Regions from separate parts of the Homo sapiens genome. Here regions 2, 3, 4 and 5 are each linked to region 1. Evidence: promoter capture Hi-C in 16 types of primary human blood cells and fetal thymus (Javierre and others, 2016). All regions are on one chromosome and are shown on one strand. Each heading gives the region's core, a stretch centred on a gene start or on the middle of the fragment in contact. The rest is flanking DNA. Distances are from core to core; before and after follow the strand shown.

Region 1 (5,212 bases), core at 1,291-3,790:
AAACTTGAGGCTAACCTTCCTTGGTCATGGGCTGAGAAGGGAACTAACATTTGTTGAGCACCTACTCTGTGCCAGCTATGTGTGTCAGGTACTTTACATCAGTGGTTCTCAACAGGGGGCAATTCTGTCCCCAGGGATATCTGGCAATGTCTGGAGACACTTTTTCTGTTTATTTTTGAGGCAAGGCTTACTCTGTTGTCCAGGTTGGAGTGCAGTGGTGTGATCACAGCTTACTTGCAGCCCTGACCTCCTGGGCTCAAGCAAGCTCCCCACCTCAGCCCAGCAGCTGGTACTACAGGTGTGTGCCACCATGCCCAGCTAATTTTTAAAATTTTTTTGTAGAGACAGGGTCTTGCTATGTTGCCCAGGCTGGTCTTGAACTTCTGGGATCAAACAATCCTCCCACTTGGACCTCCTAAAATTCTGGGATTAGAGGCCGGAGCCACTGTGCCCAGCCTGGAGACATTTTTGATTCTCAGATTGGGGAGGGAGTGCTACTGGCATCTAGTGGGTAGGGGACGCGGCTAAATGTCCTGAAATGCACAGGACACGCCCCTCCCCCAACAAAGAGTTATGTGACTCCAAATGTCAATAGTCCCAAGGTTGAGAAAGTCTGTATTGCATAGAATTCGCTCTCACAAAGACTCCCCTTTTACAGATTAGACGACTGAGGCCCAGAGAAATAACGTGTCTTGGCCAAGGTTACCCTGCCAGTTGGATTTGGACTGGGATACAAATGCAAGCCCGCTTCATTCCATGGTCCATTATGTTCCAGCCATGTTCTCCCCTCGTGGTAGACAGAATTAATTTAAAGATGAGGAAACGGAGGCTCAGAAAGGTACCGTGAACAGTTTAAAGTCACAAAGCAGAGATACTCCAGAGGCCTTTATTAGGAATAAAAATATAAATAAAAAACCAGCTACCTTTGGACACAATTGACTCCACTACCCAAGCGTGACAGGCTCACCTATCTCATGTCCTTTACTCCCTGCCCAGGGGAACTTCACTCAGCCCAAGGCCCAGATCAAATGCTACCTTGCCCATGATCCCAAAGAAAGAAGTCAGAGAGGGCAGAAGCCACCCCATTCTCTCCCTGTGTCCTTAGGCACTTACAGTATTGAGAGGCCAATGGGAGGAAAATCCTAGGCTTTTGGAACAGGAATAAATAAGCAATGTTTCTGTCCATAAAATGACTACAGTCTAGAGGCGGATACTATGTGGATCACTTTATCCCCTGCAGAGACGATACAATCTCTGGTCCGGAAACACGGGTGATTAGGGATTGTATGGGCCATTTGAGAGTGGGGCCAGGCTTAGAGGGCCGTTCACACATGCAATAATAGTAAGAACAAACATTTACAGAGAACTTTCTAGGTGTTGGGCTTCACACATGCAATAATAGTAAGAACAAACATTTACAGAGAACTTTCTAGGTGCTAAGTACTTCCCATGGAACCCCGGGGAGGACCTTGGAGCTAGGTACCATGATCGTTCCCGTTATACTGATGAAAACACTGAGGATCTTGAAGCAAGGAAACCAGCCCAAGGCCACCCGGCCAGCAAGTGGGGAGCTAGGATTTGAACCTGAGCAGCTGACTCTAGGCCCCAGAACTTCCTCCCCTCTCCATACCTTCCGATAAGGCGGGTGATGATCAACATTGCCCAGAGCAACCTGACAAGAAGCTGGGTTTCCCAAGGCCTTATCCCATGGGGTGGGTGGATGGAAGGGGGAGCAGGCAGGGTACCTGCCACTTGATCAATAACTCAAGAGCAGGTAATAATTTCTTCTGGGAAAGGTGGAAAGGGCAGGGTCAGGGGGCAAAGAAGTTCAGAAAGAAAAGGAAGGAAGGAAAGAGAGAGATGGGAAAGGAAACGGGAAAGAGAAAAGTGAGAGCGAGCGCGCGCCACGCATGTTCCTTCCCAAGGTCGTGGTAGCACCGAGGGCACCGCGAGGGCCCGGCGTTCCCGGGAGGGGCCGTCACTGCCCAGAGAGGGGCCGTCACTGCCCAGGCAGCGGTCGCCCCTGACTTCCCGGGGCCGCGGAGGCGCGCGTGGCGGGGCTGGCTTGCCCCCGAGCGGCTCCGCAGCGAGCTTTCCCAGCCCGGTGTTTACTTGGCCCGAGCAGCGGCCGGACCTGCAAGCAGGAGCCTGCGCGCGGCGGGTGTCGCGTGTGCCGGGTGGGAGTGGCGTAGCCCGCGGTGACTGCGGGTTGGGGGGGCGCCACGCGTCCGGGCGCGGAGTTGGTACGCTCGGTTCGGCGTGCGCGCGGCCTCGGACTCCCGGCTCCGCGGGGCCCTTCCGGAGGCTCCCGCCCGACCCCCGAGCTTCCGACGGAGGCGCCGAGCGCCGCGCCGCGTCCCCAGGGGCCCCGTGCACGCGCAGAGCGCCTCTGCGGCCGAGCGCGGCGTGGCACTTGGCAGACGGTCCCTGGCGCGGGGGCGGGGGGCCAGCCGTCTGGGAGCCCCGAGGGCCGCCCCCTCCCGCCCCTCGCCCGGCCCCCGCGCGCTGCCTCCGCCCCCGGCCCAGCCGCCCGGCCCCCAGTCCCGCCCGCCGCGCCGGGAGCCCGGCCCGCCGCTGAGCCCGGCCCGCCGGCGCGCCCCGTCCGGGATGGGGCGCCTGGACGCCTGAGTTGCCGCTCGGCGCGACGGAAGGAGCCGGCGCCGCGCGGCCGCGCTAGAATGGAGGCGCCCAGCGGCAGCGAGCCCGGCGGCGACGGGGCCGGGGACTGCGCCCACCCGGACCCCCGGGCCCCTGGCGCCGCGGCGCCCAGCTCCGGCCCCGGCCCGTGCGCGGCCGCCCGGGAGTCCGAGCGCCAGCTGCGCCTCCGCCTCTGCGTCCTCAACGAGATCTTGGGCACCGAGAGGGACTACGTGGGCACCTTGCGCTTCTTGCAGTCGGTGAGTGTCGCTCGGGAGCTTGGGGACAGCTTTCCCTCCAGCCGCTCGCCCCGCTGCGGTCCCCACAACCTGTGGCCGTGGTCCCCGTGGGTGGAGAATTGCCTCGGGGGCGCCCCGCAGGGCGCGCGGAAAGCGGGGGGGATCCGAGCTCCTCCAGAGCTGTCGCGTCGCCTCCCTCCCTGGCCGGCGCACGGTCCTGCTCCGACCGGGGCTCTCCCGCACTCCACTTCCCCGCGGCGCGCGCTGCCCTTTTGTCTTTTCTTCCCCGTCCCCGCCTTTCAAATAGTTTTAAAATTAGTTACATCCGCGATGCAGGGGCTTGGGGACCCCGGCGGCGCCGGGAGCTGGCGCTCCTGCGTCTTTTTCCCAGGAATAACTACGCGCCCGGTGCACCACTCATCTAGGACATACCGTAGGAGCCCCAGAGCCCAACGTCCCTGCGCGTTGATGGAGTAGGATAAAACCTGAAGCTCAGAGGAGGGGCGGGGATTGACAGAACCCCAGGGTAGAATCCCCCATGCACAGGTTTTTGCTGGAGTTCGGGGAGAGTGGGTTTCGAACTCAAAACTCGGCAGTCCAGGCTCCCTAACTGCATCCACCCCCACCAACTCCCCATCTCCAAGTGCAAAACCACGGCCTCAGACTTTGTAAAATAACAACCGACCACTTACTATGTGCCAGACACCTTACATGTGTCATTAATTAGCAGGTTTAACCTTCACAGGCGGTCTATGAAGTAGGGACGAGTATTTCCCCCATTTTTAATTAAAAAAATTTTTTTTTGAGACGGAGTCTCCCTCAGTCACCCAGGCTGGAGTACAGTGGCGCAATCTCGGTTCACTGCAACCTCCGCCTCCCGGGTTCAAGCAATTCTCTTGCCTCAGCCTCCCGAGTAGCTGGGATTACAGGCACGCGCCAGCCACCACGGCCGACTAATTTTTGTATTTTTATCAGAGAGGGGATTTCACCATGTTGGCCATGCTGGTCTTGGACTCCTGGCCTCAAGTGATCCGCCGACCTCGGCCTCCAAAGTGCAGGGATTACAGGCGTGAGCTACTGGGTCCTGCCTCCTCCGTTTTTAAGATTGGGAAAGTTTAGCTCCAGAGGGGCCGGGTAGCTTGTCTGGGATCGCACAGCTGATTAAGTGGGGGTACTGGGCTTTGAACCGGGACTATCCCAGCTGGTGTTCTAAACCCCTATTCTATGCTGCATTTTTCTTTTGCTTTTTTTCTGTGAGAGGGAGGAAGGGGCCACTTCCCTACTCTCCTAGGAAGTGAGAAAAGTGGCCAGCGGGTGGAGGGGGTGGGACGGGGCAGAGCCTTGGATGGAAGTTAGGAGACTCTAAAGTCTTTAATCTCCATGCCTCCTGCTGGGGCCTCATTTACTCCCCTTCTCTGCTCTAGGAAGTCTTTTAATCCTGGTTCAGGAAGGGCTGGTGTGGGGGTGGCTCTTTCAAAGACCCTAGAGCCAGGCTTTGTAGCTCCTAGTCTTTGGGAGAAAGAGGGAGACTCTGGGGTCCTCTGGGGCTCCTCATGGCTTAGGGGTGCAGCTGAGGCTGTGTGAGATCAGAGTTCCAGCTCAGGGAGGAGACAGCCTTAGACTAGAGCCCTTCTGCCTGTGAAAGGAGATGTACTGGGGGCAGGGGGATGTGGGAGAGGGGGTTGTGCAGAAGCATTGAAAACCATTTGGCTAAAGGACCCTTCTAGGAAGGCCTGTAAGAATAAGGCAGGATTGGCTTTCTTTCCCATCCCTTCTTCTCTCACAGTTTCGGGGGTGGGGGGTGGGGGAAGAATTTGTTCTGTTAGAAGCTGGCAGTTTTTGAATTAAACATGTAGACAACCCTGGTGTCTCTGAGCAATGTCAAATTCTAGGGAACTCCTGACTTCTCCTTCTGAGCCACTCCATGCTCCTCTGCTTGGAAGAGAAACAGGAAATACAAACCAATTTTGATATTAATGGGAAAGAAAATATACCTCTCCCTCCCACGCCCCTGCCCTAGATGGTGTGTTTCATTTTAGAACAGATCTAGATTGTGTTTGAGTTAACTGTGGTTTTAAATCGTCCACGTGTAGAGTAGGAGGAAGCTGGAATAATGGAAATTGATTGGAGCCAACCATTCTTATTATTCAAGAAACAGGAAAAAAAAAGATTTCTCTACTTTCACATTATCTCCTTAACACTTTACATTTGCTGACTTCATCACATTTTTCTTTTTGTATCTGATGTGTCAGTTCTGAGATGAATTGGTTCTGACTTGGACATGTGTCTTGGACCAATCATGCTACGTGTCCTGACCTCAGTTTCCCCACCTGTGA
Region 2 (5,212 bases), core at 1,102-3,601, 1.3 Mb after region 1:
GGCTGAAGCAGGAGAATCTCTTGAACCCAGGAGGCAGAGGTTGCAGTAAGCCAAGATCATGCCACTGCACTCCAGCCAGGGCAACAAGAGCGTAACTCCATCTCAAAAACAAAACAAAACAAAACAAAACAAAAAACTTCCAACCTAAACAGCTTCGAATGGCATCCCATTGCATTTGGGATAAAACTCAGACCCTAGTTGGGTGTGGTGGCCCACGCTTCTAGTCCTAGCTACTCAGAAAGCTGAGGTGAGAGGATTGCTTGAGCCCGGAAGTTCGAGGCTGCAGTGAGCCGTAATTGTGCCAGTGCACTCCAACCTGGGTGACAGAGGGAGACCCTGACTCCATTTAAGAAAACAAACTACTCTGACCCTAATTGATTTGGTCTCTGCTCCCCTCCCTGATCTCAGGTGATATATCTCTCCCTATATCTCACCCCATGTCACACTAACATTCCTGAACACACCAAGCATATTCCTGCCTCAGGACCTGTGCACCTGTTGTTCCTTTTGCCTAGAATTTTCTTTCCTCCTGGCTTGCTCTCTATTGCCATTCAAGTCTCTGCTGCAATGTCTCCTTCTCGGATAGAACTTCTAAAGCACTAAACACACACACAGGCACAAACACAGTCATATCACCCTGCTTTGTCTTCACAATGATTCATACCATACACCATCTGAATTTTTTTAGAAATTTTTTTTTTTTAGATGGAGTTTCACTCTTGTTGCCCAGACTGGAGTGCAATGGCGTGATCTCGGCTCACCACAACCTCCGACTCCCGGGTTCAAGTGATTCTCCTGCCTCAGCCTCCTGAGTAGCTGGGATTACAGGCACATGCCACCATGCCCAGCTAATTTTTTGCATTTTTAGTAGGGACGGGGTTTCTCCATGTTGAAATGCAGTGGCACAATCATGGCTCACTGTAACCTCAAACTTCTGGCTCAGCTGAATTTTTTTGAGACAGAGCCTTGCTCTGTTGCCCCGGCTGGGGTGTAGTGGTGTGATCTCAGCTCACTGCAATCTCCGCCTCCTGAGTTCAAGGGCTTCCTCTGCCTCAGCCTCCCGAGTAGCTGGGATTACAGGCACGTGCCACCACACTTGGCTAATTTTTGTATTTTTAGTAGAGATGGGGTGTTACCATGTTGGCCAAGCTGGTCTTGTATTCCTGACCTCAAGTAATCCAACCTCCTTGGCCTCTCAACATGCTGGGATTTACAGGCGTGTGCCACTGCGCCTGGCAAACATTGGCAGAGTTTGATGGAACCTGTAGGTGATCTTGTAGTGAGTGACATGTGGAAACACTGCTCTAGACTCAAAATCTAAGCCAAATGAGTGACACACTCTACAAGATAGTCTGTGTAGGTGCCCACTATCATTCTTTCCTGCTGTTTGCACAGGCCACTCCTACATCGAAAGGTAGGCTTTATTTCCTCTTCCTTGAACTGGAGTTGACTCTGTAACTGTTTGACCAATGGAAATAGTGGAAGTGATGTCATGGGACTTTCAAGTCTAGGCTTTAAGATGATTGGGGTGGCTCATGCCTGTAATCCCAGCACTTTGGGAGGCTGAGGCAGGTGGATCACCTGAGGTCAGGAGTTCGAGACCAGCCTGGCCAACATGGTGAAACCGCGTCTCTACTAAAAGTACAAAAATTAGCCAGGCGCCGTGGCACATGCCTGTAAACCCAGCTACTCTGGAGGCTGAGGAAGGAGAATCGCTTGAACCTGGGAGGCGGAGGTTGCAGTGAGCCAAGATTGTGCCACTGCACTCCAGCCCAGGCGACAGAGTGAGATTCTGTCTCAATAAAATAAAATAAAATAAAATAAAATAAAATAAAGATGATTGGCAGCTTACACTTTCTTCCTCATGGAACCCAGCTGCCAGATTATGGGAAGCCTAAGCCACATGGAGAGGCTACATGAAGTAAAAACTGAAGCACTCCACTTGGCAGCCCCAGCTGAGATTCCAGGCAAGAGCCTGCAGTAACTGTCAGCCATGCAAATGAGCCTTCTCATACATTTCAGTCCTTAGAGGCCCCAGGTGACTATAGTGTTGACCAGAACATTGTGAAAAAAAAGTTATAAAAAAGGAAAATAGGTAGTTTTTAAAAATAAAAATAAATGGCCAGGCGCAGTGGCTCATGCCTGTAATCCCAGCACTTTGGGAGGCCAAGGCAGGTGGATCATTTGAGGTCAGGAGTTCGCGACCAGCCTGACCAACATGGTGAAACCCTGTCTCTACTAAAAATACAAAATTAGCTGGGTATGGTAGCACACACCTGTAATCCCAGCTACTCGGGAGGCTGAGGCAGGAGAATCGCTTGAACCCAGGAGGCAGAGCTTGCAGTGAGCCAAGATCGCGCCATTGCATTCCAGCCTGGGCAACAGAGCGAGACTCAGTCTCAAAAAAAAAAAAAAAAGAAAAAAAACTAAATCATAATTAAATAATTTTTTAAAAAAAAGAACTGGAACAGAAGAACCATCCCACCAAACCTAATCAACCAAGAGAATCATGGGAGATAATAAAGATGTTGTTCTTTCAGCCACTAATCTTTACAGTGATTTACTATGCAGCAATGGATTATTGAAATACTATGTAAGTGTGAAGTTTTGTTGAACTGTGGCTGAGAACTTTTAATAGGTAGGAAGAATAATTTCAAATTCTGAAATTATTCCTCAATAAAATTGGCTTGACCTAGGGGACCCAAAGGCACAAATTCTCTGAGGATACGATTAGAAGGTCAACTAGAACAAGCCCTCCAAAAATGAAGAGATCCTGCCTACAAATATTTCTGAGTGCATGAAGCCTCTACTTACATGCTGCCCTGTGAACTTCCTCAAGGGCAGCTGTGCCAGTTAGGATTCTTGGGTTGCAAGCAACAGCAATAGACTTTGAAATGTAGCAAAATGATATCCAGGAACTCAAAGAATCAATGGGAAGTCTGGAGGGCCAGGTCGGAAATGTCAGAAACAAAGGGAAGAAAAGAAGAAAAGTAAAAGTGAATAAATAAAAAAAGAAAAAAAGATTTAAATAAAGAAAAAGAAAGCAAGGGAAGAGAAGATACTTGAAGATACTTGAACATCTTTTTCTTTTTCCTTTTTTTTTTTTTTTGGAGATGGAGTTTTGTTCTTGTGGTCCAGGCTGGAGTGCAATTGCACAATCATGGCTCACAGCAACCTCCGCCTCCCAGGTTCAAGCAATTCTCCTGCCTCACCTCCCAAGTAGCTGGGATTACAGGCATGTGCCACCACACCTGGCTAATTTTTGTTAATAGAGACAGGATTTTACCACTTTGGCCAGGCTGGTCTTGAACTCCTGACCTCAGGTGATCCACCTGCCTTGGCCTCCCAAAGTGCTGGGATTACAGGTGTAAGCCACTGCGCCTGGCCATACTTGAACATCTTATCTGAGACCAGCAGTAGATCTAGAAAAGACCACTCATTTTATCCTGTCCTCTCATTACCCTATTCCAAGATTCAAATTCCGAAGAGTAATCTGTTCAATTGATCTAGCTTGGGTCACATGTTTTATATGAAAGGAACTCCAGACCGGTAACAATGGTAACTAGCCTGCTTGCAACTTGCTCTCAAATGATTTAGGGAGAAAAAATGCACACACACAGGGAGAGAGAGTACAGATGAGCAAATATGGCAAAATGTGATCAATTAGTACGTTTAGGTTTAGGGTACACAGGTTTGTTTGGGGTTTTTTTGTTTGTTTGTTTTCAGGTGAAGTCTCACACTGTCATCTAGGCTGGGGTGCAGTGGCGCGATCTCTGCTCACTGCAACCTCTGCCCCCCAGATTTAAGCGATTCTCCTGCCTCAGCCTCCCGAGTAGTTGGGATTACAGGCACCTGCCACCAGGCCCAGCTAATTTTTTGTATTTTTAGTAGAGACAGGGTTTCACTATGTTGGCCATGCTGGTCTTGAACTCCTGACCTTGTGATCCACCCGCCTCGGCCTCCCAAAGTGCTGGGATTACAGACATGAGCCACCTTGCCCGGCCTTTGTTTTTATTTTTTGAGATGGAATCTCACTCTGTCACCCAGGCTGGAGTGTAATGGCACAATCTCGGCTCACTGCAACCTCTGCCTCCTGGGTTCAAGCGATTCTCTTGCCTCAGCCTCCTGAGTAGTTGGGATTACAGGCGTGCACCACCACGCCAGGCAAATTTTGTTTTTAGTAGAAATGGGGTTTCACCATGTTGGCCAGGCTGGTCTTAAAATCCGCCCGCCTCAGCCTCTGAAAGTGCCGGGATTACAAAAGTGAGACACCGTGCCCGACTGATTTTTTTTTTTTTTTTTTTTTTTTGAGACAGGGTTTCACTCTGCTACCCAGGCTGTAGTGCAGTGGCATGCTCACGGCTCACTGCAGCCTGGACCTTTTGGGCTCAAGTCATTTTCGTGCCTCAGTTTCTGTCCCTACTGCTATCTCCCACATTCTTCCCTCTTTCATTGTGTGAGATATAGCCAGATACCCTAATGGTTAAGAGTGTGGACTTTCCAGGAGTTCAAGACCAGCCTGGGCAACAAGGTGAGACCCCTGTCTCTACAAAATTAGAAAAATTATGGCCAGGCGCAGTGGCTCTGCCTGTAATCCCAGCACTTTGGGAGGGCCAGGTGGGCAGATGACTTGATCTCAGGAGTTTGAGACCAGCCTGGGCAACATGGCAAAACCCTGCCTATACCAAAAAAAAAAAAAAATTAGCCAAGTGTGGTGGCATGCGCCTGTAGCCTCCCAGCTACTCAAGAAGCTGAGGTGGGAGGATCACCTGAGCCAAGGAGGTTAAGGCTGCAGTGAGCCAAGATCGTGGGGCTCACGGTCTCAAAAATAAACAAATACATACAAACATACATAAATTAGCCAAGTATGATGGCATGCACCTTTAGTCCCAGCTACTGGGAGGCTGAGGCAGGAGGCTCACTAGAGCCAGGGAAGTCAAGGTGATTACACTCCACCCTGGAGTCCAAAAAGAGAAAAAAGAAAATGTGGGCTTTGACACTCACTGCCTAACCTGCTAAGCTGGTTCTGCTACTTACAAAGCTGTGTGATAGTGGCTGGTTATTTGAACTTTCTGTGCCTCCATTTCCTAAAGTGAGAACACTGATAATGATAATAATAGCAACAACAATAATGCTTATGTCATAGGGTATTATCAGGATTAAATAGAACAGCATAGTGAAAGCTCTAAACACAGTGTCAAGCACAGAGCAC
Region 3 (5,212 bases), core at 1,770-4,269, 1.2 Mb after region 1:
GAGAGGTGGCTCATGCCTGTAATCCCAGCACTTTGGGAGGCTGAGGCGGATGTATCACCTGAGGTCAGGAGTTCAAGAGTAGCCTGGCCAACATGGTGAAACCCCACCTCTACTAAAAGTACAAAAATTATGGGTGTGATGGCGCATGCCTGTAATCCCAGCTACTCGGGAGGCTGAGGCATGAGAATCGCTTGAACCCAGGAGGTGGAGGTTGCAGTGAGCCAGGATCATGCCACCACACTGCATCCTGGGTGACAGAGCAAGACACCTCTCAAAAAAAGAAACAGGAGCCAGGAAAGGTGGCAGATGTATGGGAATTCACTTAGCCAATATTTACTGAGTAGCTCCTCTGTGTTCTAAGGGTATAAGTCCTGGAGATACAGAAGTGACCACCTGAGCCAGCCTTCCTGCAGCTTAGAGTCTAACTGGGCAATAGACAATAAGCCAGAGAAATAAGTAAATTATATAGCATATGAGATGGTGATAAGTCTTCAGGAGAAAGATAAAGCAGGGAGGGTGGGGAGGGGGCGCAGTTCCGAATAGGGTCCTCAGGAGGGGCCTTGTGTTGGGTATCTGTGCTGCAGAACAAACTGCCACAAACTCAGCAGCTTAAGACAACACACATGTACAAACTCACAGTGTCTGAGGGTCAGAAGCCTGGGCCTAGCCCTGCAGGGTCGTCTGCTTAGGCTGAAATCAAGGTGCCGGCCAGGGCTGTGGTCTCATCCAGAGGCTTGACTGGGGAGCATCTGCGTCCCTGCTCATGGGGCAGGTCAAGTGCAAGCAGAGGACTTGAACCCATGCAGTCTGCCTCCCAGACTGCTCACAGTCTAGCTGCTGATTTAGAGTGGCTTGCTTCTTCAAAGCCAGCAAGGGGAGAAAGAAACCAGAGCCAGACTGCTAGCAGGATAGTAGTTGACTATCTCATAACACAACCACGGGAGTGACAGCCCATCACCTTCACAACCCACTGGTTGGCAGCAGGTGCAGGTTGGTCCACACCCAAGGTGAGGGGGTCACATTAAGGTGTGATCACCAGGGACAGGGATTCTGGGGACCACTGAGGCCTGTCACGGGCCTCCTTGGTCATAGAGCAAAGAACTAAAGGGGTGAGGGACGGTGGCCCCTGATCTCCAGGGAAAGGACATTCCAGGCAGAGAGGATGGTAAAGAAGAAGGCCCTGAGGCTGCACTGTGCCTGGGCTGTCAAGGAACAGCGAGGAGCCAGTGTCTGCCCCAGAGGTTCAGGGGAAGGGTTCAGGAAGGGCCAGGATTTGGGCTGGCTGTAAAGGGGGGGTCGCCTTCACTCAGGAAGTGGGGACAGGAAGGGCAGGAGGGGGACAGGGTGAGGCTGTCAGCTCACGGCATGAGCTGAGACACAGAAACTAAGGGGGGGCGAGCACAGAGTGGGGGTTCAGCTGAATCTGGGCCGCAGAGGGGAGCTGCTGAGGTTGAGGTGCCAGACTGCAGCTTCCATACCTGCAGATGTCAGCCTCCCACAAACTGCTGCCCACCTACCGCTCCCCACCCCCCACGCGAGGCTGAGGCACCACCACCTGAGTGACTGAGTCCCCGATCTCCTGCCTCCCCCAGGAATCCCCACATCGTCCTCAACATTGACCTGGCCCCCACCATCCTGGACATTGCAGGCCTGGACATACCTGCGGATATGGACGGGAAATCCATCCTCAAGCTGCTGGACACGGAGCGGCCGGTGAATCGGTGAGGACGGAGCAGGGCAGGTGTTGAGGGGGCCGGGACATTGACCTGCGGGAACTCAGAGCAAAACCCTGTGGGTCTAGAACGTGGGGTCTCCAAGGGTCGGGAGCTGGGGTTCTCAGGTCCCGCCATGCCAACCACTTACCTGCTGTGGGAGAGAAGCATGGTCCCCTCTCCGAGATTCTGTCTTCCCATCTGGAATGTGGCCAAGGTGACCAGTTGGGGACCTTCTCTGAGCTAAAATTACCCAAAGCTTGAAATGATAGCAGCAGTGATGGTAGGAGATGGTGCTAACTGCACGGCGCTTGTGTGTGAGGCCCTATTCTAAGTACTGTGCAGGGAAATCTAGGAATTTGATCCTCACAGTAACCCAGCGAGGTGGACATTATCATCATCCCCATTTTACCAGTTTGGAATCTGAATCCCAAAGCGATTGAGTGACGTGTCGGAGGTATCCCAGCAAGTCTGGATGTAGCTCTGGGAATTCAGATGCTGACTCACCACGCCCCATAACTTTAATGCTGGAGGGTGTGATGGGAACATATTCCTAGGTGTCCAGAGAGGCAGAATAGGAACCGTGAGGGTGAGCAAGTCAGACAGGTGGGAGGTGGGCTGAGTCAGGGCGGGGAGGCTGGTGTGGCCGCAGCGACATCTGGTGGCCAGCGCTCTTAACAGCCACCAGGTTCCTGGCCTCCAGGTGCTACTTCAACTCCTGGCTTGCACCTCTGGCAGCGGAGCCCTTCCCCTGTGGCCTCCCAGAGGCTCCAGCCAGGCGAGCACTGTGTGCCCACATCTGGCTGCCCTGTAGGGGGACCGTGTCCATTGAGGCTCCTCCCCTGACTGTGAGGCCAGGCAAGCTGTAATGGTATAAAATGGACATGTTTGGGGACACTGGCCTGGGAGCCAGGACACCTGGGGGTCAGGGGACAGGGTGGAAGCTTCCCCTCTCAGCTTCAGAGTCCCCATCTAGGAAATGGAAATGACCAGGTGGCACTGGATGAAACATACAAATTACATACATGCAACTGCAAAGCACCAAAGAAGAAAATACTCCCAAAACCCAATGCAATTAACCTGACATCAAGGCAACCACTGCGCCTGACACTGAGCTCAAGACAGAGCTCAAGACGCCAAACCACTGCGCCTGATGCTGAACCACTGCGCCTGACGCTGAACTCGAGATAGAGCTCGTCTAGTGCCGGGGGAGTTGCTGGGCTTCCTGGGAGGGGCTTGAGATGTGTGTGCGCGCACACACACACACACACACACACACACACAGTTACTTGGGTGGGACTTACAGTGATTTTGACCTGGGTCATTTCTACTGTGTGTGTCTCCAGACCCAAGTCTCTGGGGAAGGGGTGGCTCAACTCAGAGGAGGGTGGGCAATGCTCTAGTGCCCAGCTGGGCACACTCACCACAATTGCTGTCCAGGCTGACCGTAAACCAAGGCTGACTCCTGGTGCCGTCCCTGCTCCTGGGGGAACGGGGGGTCGTGGGAAGCCCTCATGTTGCTGAGAAGCAGGAGCCGTGCTTTTTTCCAGGTTTCACTTGAAAAAGAAGATGAGGGTCTGGCGGGACTCCTTCTTGGTGGAGAGAGGGTGAGTGCCGGGTCCTGGGAGGGACACCCCTGCCCACCTCCCTCCCTCTGCCCAGGAAGCTTCTGTAGCCCCACCGCATCATGCTATTCAGGAGCTGCCCATGGCTCTGAAGTTGGTCCAAAGGCCCCTAAACACAAAGCCCATTCACTGCTCCTATAGACACAGAATTGGGGTCTGAGGTCACGTGTACGCTTTTGGCATGCTTTGTCCAGCCTCTACAATGTCTTCAATTTATTTAATTTATTGCCAACTCATGCAATTTGGGAAGTTTCTTATAAAATTCCAATGTCTTAAGTTTCCTAAACATCAGAAGACCCGGGCAGGTGGCCCTGCGCCCTCCACTGTGAGGAAAAGCCGGAGCCGAGGGGGCACCCCTCTAGGTGGGCACACATGCCTCCGGGGCTCCTCCAGAGCTGAGAGGCCGGCCCCGCGGCTCCTGCTCTCTGCCCCATAGCAAGCTGCTACACAAGAGAGACAATGACAAGGTGGACGCCCAGGAGGAGAACTTTCTGCCCAAGTACCAGCGTGTGAAGGACCTGTGTCAGCGTGCTGAGTACCAGACGGCGTGTGAGCAGCTGGGACAGGTAAGAAGGCTCCCTTCCCTCCCAACGGCTCCCCCTCCTGACTGCAGCCGGCCCTGACCTGCGAGGCTCTGAGAGCCGCTGAGCCAGCAGGGCCAGGGCCTCCCAACGGGTAGTCCTTTGCTGCCGTGTGGTGCCCAAGATGCTGTTTGGTGGTGCAGGATGATGCTCACAATAAGTGATTCATTTCTCAGCAGCCTTTGGACCCTGACCGTGTCAGAGGCCAAGTGTCCCGTGGGTGTGTGTATGCCCTTAGCGCCTCTCTAGCCCTTGCCGATCTCTCTTGCACGAAGGCCCCAGCAGGAGTTAAATTATTTTATTTTCACCATATTCACTTTGACAGTATCCTCTTTGTGACTGGTTTTCCTTTTATAGGAGTAATAAGACATGGCTTTTTAAAATAAATATAGGTAAGGTTTTAAAAAGTGAATTGATTGCAAGAGAAATATTAAGGAAATTATGGCCAGGAACAGTCCGTGGCTCATGCCTGAGGTCCCAGCTACTCCAGAGCTGAGGCGGGAGGATGGCTTGAGCCCACGTGTTGGAGGCTGCAGTGAGCTATGATTGCGCCACTGCACTCCAGCTTGGGTGACAGAATAAGACCCTGTCTCTAAAAACATAAGAAAAAAGAAAATTATCTGGGAAGTATCAGAGATAGCCAGAAACTGACATGTTTGGGAAAGCCTGAAGGAGGCTTTTCTGAGGCTGGAAAGCCAGGGCAGGCTTGGAGAGGAGGGTCGGGGGCGGGGCAGGGCAGGGAGGGGAGTGGGATGGAAACTCTGCCTTGGCTGGCCCAAGGGGTGCCGGAGGTGTGTCCCTGCCCTGCCTGTCAAAGGCTGGGACTTTGAGCTGGGGCTGGAGCTGTGTGCCTGTTTCACCTATGAGAAAAAGCAAAACCAGGGCCCTGGTATTGAAGGCCAAGGCCTGAAGTGGATGCGTTTCTGATGGACTGCATTTGAATGACTCCATCTTAACACTGCACACAGAATTAGTACAGGCCCATACAGGCCTGACTGTGCCTCCCCACCCAGTGTGTGTTTGTAAACCCACAGACCCCTCTTAGTCACACAATTAACCCGTATCTGCCACCGGGCAGGAGCTGTGGATTTCATCCCTCCGTTGTACAGCATGAATGCGTCCCCCCGCTTGCCAGGCACTGTCCTAGGCGCAGGGCCACAGCCTCGAACATGCTCAACAGAAGCTCCTGCCCTCCCAGAGCTGATGTTCTGGAGAGAGTTCAGCCTTGACTTTGTACCGAGATCCCAGAAGTGGTTCTGATTTTAGTTCTGGGCTAAAAGGAGTGAAATGAGGA
Region 4 (5,212 bases), core at 966-3,465, 1.1 Mb after region 1:
TGGCATGCGCCTGTAGTCCCAGCTACTCGGGAGGATGAGGTGGGAGGATCACTTGAGCCTGGGAGGTTGAGGCTGCAGTGAGCCGTGATGGTGCCACTACACTCCAGCCTGGGTGGCAGAGTGTGACGTGTCTCAAAGAAAAAAAAAATGTACATGCAAAATAAAAACAGAAGAGGATCATGAAGAGGTCTTGTCTGTCTCCTTATCACAGAGCTTTTAGGCACATCCCCTTCCTGATGAATTAGGGTGATTTTCTTTAAGCTTTGTTGTTGATGTAAAGCGTGCATGTGGAAAAGTGCATGGCTCCCAAATCTCCAGGCCAATGAGGTGTCACCAACTGAACCACCTGCTCCAGCAAGAAATAGAACAAGATCATCACCCGAGAAACTCCCCTTGCTGCTCCCAGCCACCCTCCCCCAGTCTCCAGGATACCCACTGTTTTTATTCTAACATCATAGATTAGTTTGGCCTGTTCTCAAATTTCACATAGATGACGTCATATGGCATGTATTCTTTTGTATCTGGTTTATCTCTCTTAACATTCTTAGGTTGTTGAGATGCATCCCTGTTCTTGAATGTAGCACTAGGTCTTTCGTTCAAGTTTCAATGTAGCCTTCCGTTCTGTAAATATGCAACAATTTCTTTACCCATCCTTTTGTTGATAAACATTTCATTTGTTTCTACCTATTTACTATTACAAATGTGCTGTCATGTCTTGTACCTGAGTTTAGGTGAGTGTATGAATACTTTTCTGTTGGGTAAATACCCAAGATTTAAATTGTTGGGTAGAAGTTACCAATGCATTCAAATTTAGCAGACACAGCCAAAGAGTTCCCCACCGTGGTTGGACCGGTTGGGGCAGCCACTCAGTGTGTGAGGGCTCAAGTTGTCCCACATCCCCACCCATACTAGGTGTTGCCCATTTCTTTAATGTTAGCCATTCTGGTTGCTGTATAGCAGACAGAATCCAAGGGATCCACAAACTTCAATGGGAAAAAAAGTGACACTCTGGTTTTCACTAACCTACAGCTGAGACTTAGCATTTGCTTCCAATATGAGCATAAGCCATAAACCACAGTATGTTGGCAGAATCTGTAGCTTTGTCATCTGTAGAAATCACCAGTATTTAATATCCCATTGCAGTTTTTGCAGATACTGCAAAATATAATATTTTCACTCATAACTATTCTGAAATGATCGCTCTCTACAAGGTTTTAAAAGACACAGTAGGCCAGGTATGGTGGCTCACGCCTGTAATCCCAACACTTTGGTCAGGAGTTCAAGACCAGCCCGGCCAACATGGTGAAACCCTGTCTCTACTAAAAATACAAAAAATTAGCCAGGCATGGTGGCAGACGCCTGTAATCCCAGCTGAGGATTACTCGGGAGGCTGAGGCAGGAGAATTGCTTGAAACCTGGGAGGCAGAGGTTGCAATGAGCCAAGATCGTACCATTGCACTCCAGCCTGGGTAACAGAGCAAGACTCCATCTCAAAAATAAAAAATAAAAGACACACTGTATCGCAAATGTGTTTAGTATTTTGATAACCGTATTTCCAAACAATTGATTTTCTCTGTAATCCTATATCTTGTATTCAATGCACGTAATAACATTGGAGAAGGGATCCATTGCTCTGTGTGCCAGAGGGCTCCATGGCAGAGCAGGTGTGCATGCTCAGGCCTCGGACACACAATAGTTTAATAAACATCGTCAGGCACTTTCTCACGTGGCCTCCTGATCCATCTCCCTCCGCAGCTTTCTTCGGGAAGTATCTTAATGAATACAACGGCTCCTACGTGCCACCCGGCTGGAAGGAGTGGGTCGGACTCCTTAAAAACTCCCGCTTTTATAACTACACGCTGTGTCGGAACGGGGTGAAAGAGAAGCACGGCTCCGACTACTCCAAGGTAAGCTGCAACCTTTCCAGCCTGGGAGTGGCTGTGTGGCCCAGCAGTTAGAGGCCCAACTCAGGAGCCAGACTACTTGGGTTCAGATTGTGACTCAGGCACTTAAAAGTGTGACCTTGAGCATTTTACATACACCTCCTCCTCAGTTTTTCATCTCTCAGCCAGGGACAGTGGCTCACGCCTGTAATCCCAGCACTTTGGGAGGCTAAGGCAGGTGAATCACTTGAGTCCAGGAGTTCAAGACCAGCCTGGGCAACATGACGAGACCCTGTCTGTACGAAAAAAATACAAAACTTAGCCGGGTGTGGTGGCACATGCCTGTGGACCCAGCTACTAGAGAGGCTGAAATGGGAGGATTGCTTAAGCCCGGGAGTTTGAGGCTGCAGTGAGCCAGGATCTTCCCACTGCTCTTCGGCCTAGGTGACGGAGCAAGACTCTGTCTTTAAAAAAGAAAAGAAAAATGTATTCATTTCTCAAAAAATAGTGTCTGTTTCCAAGAGTTTGGTTTTTTAACATTTTGCCGAGACAGAATATTCTTACAGAAAGTACATACACAGAGTGTACCATTCAAAGGCTTGCCGCACACTGAACGGACATGTGTAATGAGCACCCGGGTAGGCCAAGAAGAGAATGTCACCACCGCCCGCAGCAGTCCCCTCACGGAATTCCCCCGACTCGACACCCCTCCCGCGAGGATAACGATGATTCAGACTCTTAGCGTTACAGATTCACTCTGCATCTGGCTTCTCCTGCTTAGTATTATGTTGAGTTCATTCTTGCTGCCCAGCATTCCATCATGCGCTTATACCACAATTTGTTTATTTCTTCTACTTTTATTGGGCATTTAGGTATTTCCAGTTTGGGGTTATTACAAATAGCGCTGCTGAGCACTGTCTAGAACCTAGCTCCTGGTGAGCATAGAGGCTCATTTCTGTTATACCCGTTCCTCACAGCAGCGTTGCTGAGCACAGGGCGTGTGCATGTTCGGAGTGAGTGGGTGCTGCCTGAGCACCTGCAGCAGTGGTTGATCCTCAGTCGTAGTTTTTTCTGTTTTTAACATAAGATGAATTGACATGAGGTAACATGCACAGATCTTAAGTGGACCGCTGGATGAATTTTCACATACGTGTGCATCTGTTTCACCGCGCATCTCTTCCACATATGCGTGCATCCATTTCACCGCGGCTCCGATCAAGACATAGAGCACTTCCAGAAGACTCCCTGAGACCCCTCTCCAGTCATGACCCCCCACCCTGGGGATGACGTCTACTCTGACTTCTGACAGCGTGGATTATTTTTGCCTATTCTAGAACTTCACCTAAATGGAATCGTATAGTCTGTTCTCTTCTGCATCTGCCTTTTTTCACCCAGCGCAATGTCTGTGAGATCTGTATTATTTATTCATTCAACAACTCATGGACATTTTGGTTGTCTCCAGTTTGGGTCTATTATAAACTAAGCTGCCGTGAACATCTTTGTCCATGGCTTTTAGTGGACATATGCACCCATTTCTTTTGGTTATACACCCAAAGAAGGATTGCTGGGACATAGGATGTGTTAAGATGTTGCGCCCGGCCAGGCGCAGTGGCTCACACCTGTAATCCCAGTACTTTGGGAGACTGAGGCGGGTGGATCACTTTAGGTCAGGAGTTCGAGGCCAGCCTGGCCAACATGGTGAAACCCCGTCTCCACTAAGAATACAAAAATTAGCCCTGCGTGGTGGCGGGCGCCTGTAATCCCAGTTACTCGGGAGGCTGAGGCAGGAGAATGGTGTGAACCCGGGAGGCAGAGGTTGCAGTGAGCCGAGATCACATCACTGCTCTCCAGCCTGGGAGACAGAGCGAGACTCCATCTCAAAAAAGAAAAAAAAAAAAAAAAAAAGATGTTGCACCAGTTTACACTCCAGCCGGAAATGGGAGTTGCCCTGCATCCCTTATCAGCACTTGGTGTTGTCTTTTTTGTCAGGGCTGCTTTGTTGGGCATGTAGCGGTGTTTCATTATGGTTTTACCACAAAGGTTTTTGAGGATCACGTGAGTTAGTACATGTAGAACATTAGAAGCGCCCCTTGCACGTAGTAAATACTCAGTATGTAGTAGCTTAGATCAGGGCAACAAATATTTTCTGTAAAGGGCCAGATACTAAATATTTTAGGCTTTACAAGGCTTACAGTCCTGTTACCACTGCAGAAGTCTGCCGTTATAGTGTGAAAGCAGCCATAGATAATATACAAACAAGCATGGCCATGCTCTAAGGAAGCTTTGTTTACAAAAACAGGCAGTCGACCTGCTTGGCTGTAGTTTGCTGACCCCTGGCTTAGATGATGAGGAGGAGAAGGAGGAGAGGCTGACAGTGATGTTTCATCCAGATGTCCCATTTTAAAAGAAATATGGAAATGAACAAATCTTCCTGCCCCATCTGAATCCTCAGAGTCAGCTCTGACATCCCCCCACAGCTGGTACATTCTTTCCCCAGACCAGCTGCCAAATCCATCCCTCTTTCTCTTTTCCCATCCCCACTGCCACCAGTCCTGGGCCCTGCCTACTGTGACTTCCCAGGTTAAAGTCACTAGAGAACAGGCAGTCACTGAAAGAGGGTAGCAAGCCAGGAGTGTGTGGACAATAGGGAGTGGTGGAGACGGTGGAGAAGGTGTCTGTCCAAAAGGGGCAGATCAGGCCCAGGTAGAACTGTGGGCCCAGATGGCCACTTTTCCTGATTTTTCAACAGAAGCCACAAATTTGTATTTTTTACCTATGAAATCTCCTGATTGGTAAATATTGGCAACTAATTCAGACTTTTCTAAAATCTTGCATCAATTGAGCATGCCTGACCCATGGGCCTGCAGCCCTTCAGCCCACCATGTCGTTCTTCTGCCAGCACCCTCCGGGGACTGTACGGTGAGTTTCACATTTGGAGTCAGTGGGATCAAGTTGAGAGCCCCAACCTTGACACATATTACGTGACCTTGGACATGCTACGTACTCCTAAGAGCCTCAACTCCCAAATCTGAAAAACAAGCATACCCTTGCATACTTAATCATGTGTACTTCCATTTACTGAGCACCTACTGTGTACCCCTGAGCACCTACTATGTAGTGCTCAGGGGTACACAGTAGTACTTCTGATAACATGTAGTACTTCTGATATTCACAACAATCATATGAGGGGAGTGGACTAGTCACATTTGGTTCCATTATTCATTCACCACCCCCAACAAGTATTCATTGAGAGCCTGCTGTGTACCAGGTACCATGCCAAGTGCTGGCTATTCCAAGGTGAATGAAAACAGATGACCCAATCATGGTCC
Region 5 (5,212 bases), core at 1,651-4,150, 1.1 Mb after region 1:
CAGTAAATTTTTTTTTGAATGAAGGAAGCAAGAAAAGAAAGAGGCTTGGAGAGCTACAGGCACATCTGGCTAGCATGTTTGCTCGAAGGTGACTGCTCAGGGCAAGGATGTCAAAACCTGTTAGTCATTTGCAAAAAGCTAAGCAGGTGGCTGGGAGGATTGGTTTCATACACACTCACTTGCTCCCCAGTGCCAGAGCTGGGGTTTTGTGCTAGCATTGCTTGCAGAGGAAGGATCGTCCCCTTTATGCCACGGCAGGGACCTCACGGCCTTGCAGAAGGGCTGGTGGAACCCTCCACTTCTGATGACTCTGGGGCCAAGCTAGTCTTCCAGGTCAGTGGTGTGACATTCTAATGAGGGCTCTTGGGTTAAATATTTCTGCATGTGCCCTTGAAAAGACAACTCCCTTCCCTAAATTGTCCCTTCCTGAAAGAACAGCGGTCACAGCCCAGGAGAGCAGCCTCTTTAACCTCCACTCCCCAACCTACCCTCCTGAAAGCTCACATTTACCGAGCACTTTGTACAGGCTAGTGGTGGTTTAAGTGCGCGCTCCTGTGAATGTGGAATAACTCAGCGATGTGGGGATCTTCCAACCCCGTTTTACAAAGGAGGAAAGAGACACAACGAAGTCTCTCCTTGCTCTGCCATGCTGGTAGAATAGGACATCACAGGCCACCTAACCAGGGGCTCTGTTCAGCTCGCAGAAATGTTTTGTTTGAACCTTCTAAAAAGCTGTCAGATTTGTAACAACTACGAGATTTCACATTTTAAAAATCTGGATTTTCAGCTTCTCCTGAAAAATGGGGAGATGTGGTCCCCACCATCCCCTATAGCCTGACATTGTGAACCAATTCATTTGGCTTTTCATTGCACTTTCCCTTCTGTTTTTCTCATTGTGGAGCAATATTTCTCTGTTCCATCTCTACCAAAAGTGGCCAGATGAGAGCTGGAGAGGAAGTGGGGTGTGGAGTTTTCTTATGCGTCCACTTCACCCGTTTACATTATCTGCCTGGCCCACGTAGGCATTTGAGTTTGTCTCCCGTTGTGACACTTTGTACCCAATGGCTACACTTCCAGGGACATTGCAAGTGTCCCTGGACACTTACATTGTGCATTGCAAGTGTGTAGTAATAATAATGTCTAATATCTATTGATTACTTTTTGCCCAGCATTTCATCATCACAGCAAGCCTTTGAAGCAGGGACTAATATCATCTTCACTTTATCAGTAAGGAAACTGAGGCACTGTGTGTGATGCCCTCACTAGAACAGGAGGTCCTGAAGCTTGTTCATCTTTGTACCATCTGTGCTAGGCTTACTGGCTGTTTGAATGAATGACTAAAGGAATGAATGAATGATGTTCTCCTCCAAGTGTTCATTAGCCGAAGAGGCTGAAAGTCTTAACCTCATAGTCATTTGTGACATTTCTGTTGGGGGAATGGGCTCTGATCAGTGTCACTGAGGATTCTTGGGTTGTGTTTCTGCTGTATAACAAACCACTCCAAACTCAGTGGTTTAAGGTAACAACATTTTATTTTGGACGATTCTGTGGTTTGACCAGGTGGTTCTTCAGCTTCATGTGATATCAGCTGGCAGGTCTAAAACAACCCCATTCAAATGGCTGGCAGCTCTTGCTGGTCACCAGATGGGAGCTCAGTTATTCTCCATGTGGGCTCTGCCCTATGGCTACTTGGGCTTCCTCGCAGTATGGCAGGTTCAGGGTAGCCTGACTTCTAAGAGTGCAAAAATGAAAGCTGCCACGGTCTCTTAAGGCTTAACCGCAAAACCGGCACAGCATCACTTCTGCCACCTTCTCTTGGTCAAAACAGGTCCCAAAGCCAGCCCGGTTTCATGAGGTGGGGCCCACACAAGGGTTTGAATACCAGGCAGTGTGGCTTTTTGGAGTCCACCAAAGTACCCATTCATCACAGACTGCAAGTAGCAGAGCCCAACACTTACTACCTCAAGCTGGAACAGGATTTACTGGGGGGCTCAGGAAAGGACAGGTCAGGAACTGAGGAAATTCTGGGGACCTTGGCGCAGGAGTTACTAGCAGCCTCCTGAAGGAGAGTTTCCATCCCAATGCGACAAATGCACCCCTGCTTTTTCTTTCTGCCCTTGACACTTTATTTGACAGTTGGGGACATGGTAAGAAAGTCTGATTGACCTTGGTCACATGATCACCCCTTGGCAGAGAGGATGGGGGCATCTTGGCAGAGGGGAGGGAGTCCTCAAAAGGAAGCTGGGGTGCTGTCAAAAGAAGGGGACCAGATGGACAAAAATTGTTAGAAATCTCTGCACCGCCCCTGCATAGGTGACTCCACCCCTGGCAGAGCAATGAACATTTTAAAACGAGTGAATGGACTTTGAAAGTCCAGTATAAGTAGAATGCCCAAACCTGTGTGGCAGCTTCTCCAGCTCCAGGGCCCCATAGCTCAGGTGCTGCTGGGGGTCTGGAAGCTTCTCTCCACTTTACGGGGCAAAGTCAACTCCTAGAACCCCTGCCATGCCTCAATATCCCCCTCCAGAAGATAGGGGCAGTTTGCTTCTGGCTCCTGAAAGGAGAGCATGCGCGGTAATGAGGGACCTGGGCTCAATGCCTGCACTCCCTCCTCCCAGACCCCGCCTCACCAGTGACACTGCCTTCCACCCCAACACCTGGTGACACCCAGTGAGTCCCCGCAGCAGGGGAGGCTGCTAGTAGGAAAAACTGATCCAGACTAATCTCAGCTCGCAGAGCCTCTGACCCGGGCTTTCCTCCCACTTGCCGGTCTATTTCCGGCTGCTAATTAGATTGCACAGCAAGCCACATTGGGAAGCCGACCTGTCGTTCCAAAGGCACTCCACTCGCATCTCCAAATGTAGCAGGTGATTTGGTAAAAGTTGATTCTGACTCCTTCCCCCAGCTTCTAAAATAATTGTAAGTGTCGGGCTGTTTCCAAGGTGAACTAATGAACAGCTCATCTGCTAATAGCAGGGGCAAGCTGGCTGAGGACGGCACGCTCGCCTGTGGATTGGGTGAAAAGGAAAGAAGTAATTGGATTATTAATACCAAGCCGTCAAAATACCTTTTATTCCTTTTATATTCTTCTGGAAGGAAACGACAATCTCTGGAAACATAAATACATGTTCTGTGGGGGTAAGCAGGGCTAAGAAAATGTGGGGCTGAAAAGGAGGAGGGGGTTAAAAAGGTGGAATTGTCAGTCCCCACTGTGGCAGTCTACACTGAGAACCAGCCCACAGTTAGGCGTGAATAATGACTCTGTTCAAGTCGGACTTTATTGCTTTTGGCCAAAGGCCTTTTGCAGAAATAACTTTGTAACTCCCTGCCAGGGAAGCTTTTGTCCACAGCTGAGACAAAGGAACAAAGAACAGAGGTGGGAATTTCTGTATCTGATTTCTACTTCCTCTAAACAGCCAGAAAGGACAGCGGGTGTGGCCTGCCCAGAAGGCATGGGCTGGGGCAAAGGGGTGTCCAGCCTCCTGTGGGCCACACTGCCGTGCTCGGCTGCACCATGTTGGTTTCATTGTGCACATTCCCACCCCAGGGCCTTTGCACTTACTTCCTCCGTTCATAGAAAGCATTTTGCCCACAACTGGCTTCTCGCCCGCCTCTGCTCTCAGCTCAGATGCCATTTCCTTATGCCACCTCCTCATGCCAGAGAGGCCTTTCCCAATTTACTGTCCATCCTATCACCTGACAGCTTCCTCCAAAGCTCTTAAGACAATCTTCATTCATTCATTTTCTCCTCCACCAAGGTATCACAGCTCCATGAGGACAGAGGCCTGGCCTGCCTTGTGGCCACTGCTGTTTCTTAGCATGTGGCACATAGTAGGTGCTCAGGAAAGATTGGATAGCTTGGAAGAGTCGCACATAGCTCCCAGGCCAAGCTCCAGCGGGGCTTTATGGAGCCCGCTCAGTGCTTAAAATAGGTTGAAAGTTTTTACTTTGGAAATGGTGTTTCCGGTGTAGTCCAGGCGCCACCCCATCTCTATCCTAAATCTAGGCCACTTTACTCACTCAGGTCTCCTGCCCGACCCTTGGATGCATTTGCATATTTGTCCCTGCTTTAGACAAAGGCCACTGCAAACATATCTCTCTCCAAAGGTCACCAGACAACATCCAGACTTCTTGCATTGCCAAGTCTTGTGCCAGACCGGTGGCCTCCACCAACCAGGTCCCATTGACTGGATCAAGGTGTAGTCTTCATCTTAGCCGTCCACGCACAGGGCGTAAGTGGCGTTGATCTCATCATAAGCAGGTCATGGCAGGAGGAGGGTCGGGCAGGAGACCTGAGTGAGTGAAGTGGCCTAGATTCAGGATAAGAGACGGGGTAGGGCCTGGACTACATTGGAAATGCCATTTCCAACGTAAAAACCTTTAACTTTTCCTTTTTCCCCTTTTCCTTTTCTGCTCTCCTCCAAGCCTCTGGGTCATCAAGGAGGGAATCGCGTGAACTCCTCCTTTATGGTCTTCAAGGAGACCTACTCCCAATGTAAGGGGAAGCGCAGAGGCCTTGGCAAGCAAGAATGTAACCACAATGTCATTGCCTTTATACTGTTGCCATCTAAGTATGGCAGGGGTTCTCACCTAGGGGCAGTTTTGCCCCCTAGGGGGACATTTGGCAGTGTCTGGAGATATTTTTGATTGTCACAACTGGGGTAGGTGCTACTTGCATCTCATGGACAGAGGCCTGTGAACACCCTGTGATACACAGCACAGTCCCCCATCGAAGAATGATCCTGCCCACGCGGCAGTAATGCCAAGGTTGAGAGACCCAGGTTTATGGCAATGGGTGCTGGTTCCTCCAAGATAGACTTTTCTTTCTAAATAAATTTATTGAAATAAGAAAGGGAATGAATGAATGAATTTAGGCCCAGATTTGGGTATTCTACTTATACCAGACTTTTAAAAATTCATTTATTTATTCTGAGACGCTGGCATATGGGATGGAGCACAGAGGTTAACGATCAGCCCTGTCATCCCTTTCGGAGCAGATCAGGCTGTACCATTTGCCTCAAATCAGGAGCCCCTGCCCTGGAAGCTGCCATCTTGCCAGAAACTTCCTGGGGAGCTGCCTGTAAAAAACTCTAGCAGCAGTTGATTCTGGCCCAGGTGGAAAAGCTGTGTTATCCCAGGCGGAGTTCCGGCAGGTTGGGAGATGTTTCCAGGTCTCCTGCCCAGCCAGGCATGATGAGCATCCTTCCAAGCT

Evidence for each region. Contacts are between HindIII fragments. The CHiCAGO score rates a contact against its expected background, and 5 or more counts as called.
Region 2: a contact is called between a fragment that was not itself captured here and the fragment with the promoter of PREX1 in region 1, in 1 of 17 cell types (naive CD8 T cells). The highest score is 5.4, in naive CD8 T cells.
Region 3: a contact is called between a fragment that was not itself captured here and the fragment with the promoter of PREX1 in region 1, in 1 of 17 cell types (naive CD8 T cells). The highest score is 5.2, in naive CD8 T cells.
Region 4: a contact is called between a fragment that was not itself captured here and the fragment with the promoter of PREX1 in region 1, in 1 of 17 cell types (naive CD4 T cells). The highest score is 5.6, in naive CD4 T cells.
Region 5: a fragment that was not itself captured here is called in contact with the fragment with the promoter of PREX1 in region 1 in 1 of 17 cell types (M0 macrophages); the score reaches 5.4 in M0 macrophages.

Annotation. Positions count from the first base shown.
Region 1 is chr20:48,825,327-48,830,538 of GRCh38, reverse strand. PREX1 (phosphatidylinositol-3,4,5-trisphosphate dependent Rac exchange factor 1) reads left to right here and starts at 2,540. Exons shown (of 40, transcript NM_020820.4): 1 at 2,540-2,897. The coding sequence starts at 2,679. RefSeq lists silencers at 1,887-2,566, 2,977-3,046. The HindIII fragment of the contact is 7,694 bases long and covers 1-5,212 here.
Region 2 is chr20:47,493,856-47,499,067 of GRCh38, reverse strand. No RefSeq gene overlaps it. Among named protein-coding and RNA genes, the nearest start is that of NCOA3, 5.4 kb to the left of the region's middle. The HindIII fragment of the contact is 9,001 bases long and covers 1-5,212 here.
Region 3 is chr20:47,675,185-47,680,396 of GRCh38, reverse strand. It overlaps SULF2 (sulfatase 2), which reads left to right. Exons shown (of 21, transcript NM_001387048.1): 8 at 1,593-1,721; 9 at 3,263-3,319; 10 at 3,774-3,903. Among named protein-coding and RNA genes, the nearest start is that of SULF2, 110 kb to the left of the region's middle. RefSeq lists enhancers at 1,110-1,610, 4,973-5,212. The HindIII fragment of the contact is 722 bases long and covers 2,659-3,380 here.
Region 4 is chr20:47,699,214-47,704,425 of GRCh38, reverse strand. It overlaps SULF2 (sulfatase 2), which reads left to right. Exons shown (of 21, transcript NM_001387048.1): 4 at 1,756-1,907. Among named protein-coding and RNA genes, the nearest start is that of SULF2, 84 kb to the left of the region's middle. RefSeq lists an enhancer at 2,653-2,712. The HindIII fragment of the contact is 3,903 bases long and covers 264-4,166 here.
Region 5 is chr20:47,771,782-47,776,993 of GRCh38, reverse strand. The region is part of intron 1 of SULF2 (sulfatase 2); the gene reads left to right. It overlaps LOC124904922 (a long non-coding RNA gene), which reads right to left and starts at 2,904. Exons shown (of 3, transcript XR_007067620.1): 1 at 2,824-2,904; 2 at 2,398-2,554; 3 at 1-2,249. The HindIII fragment of the contact is 878 bases long and covers 2,462-3,339 here.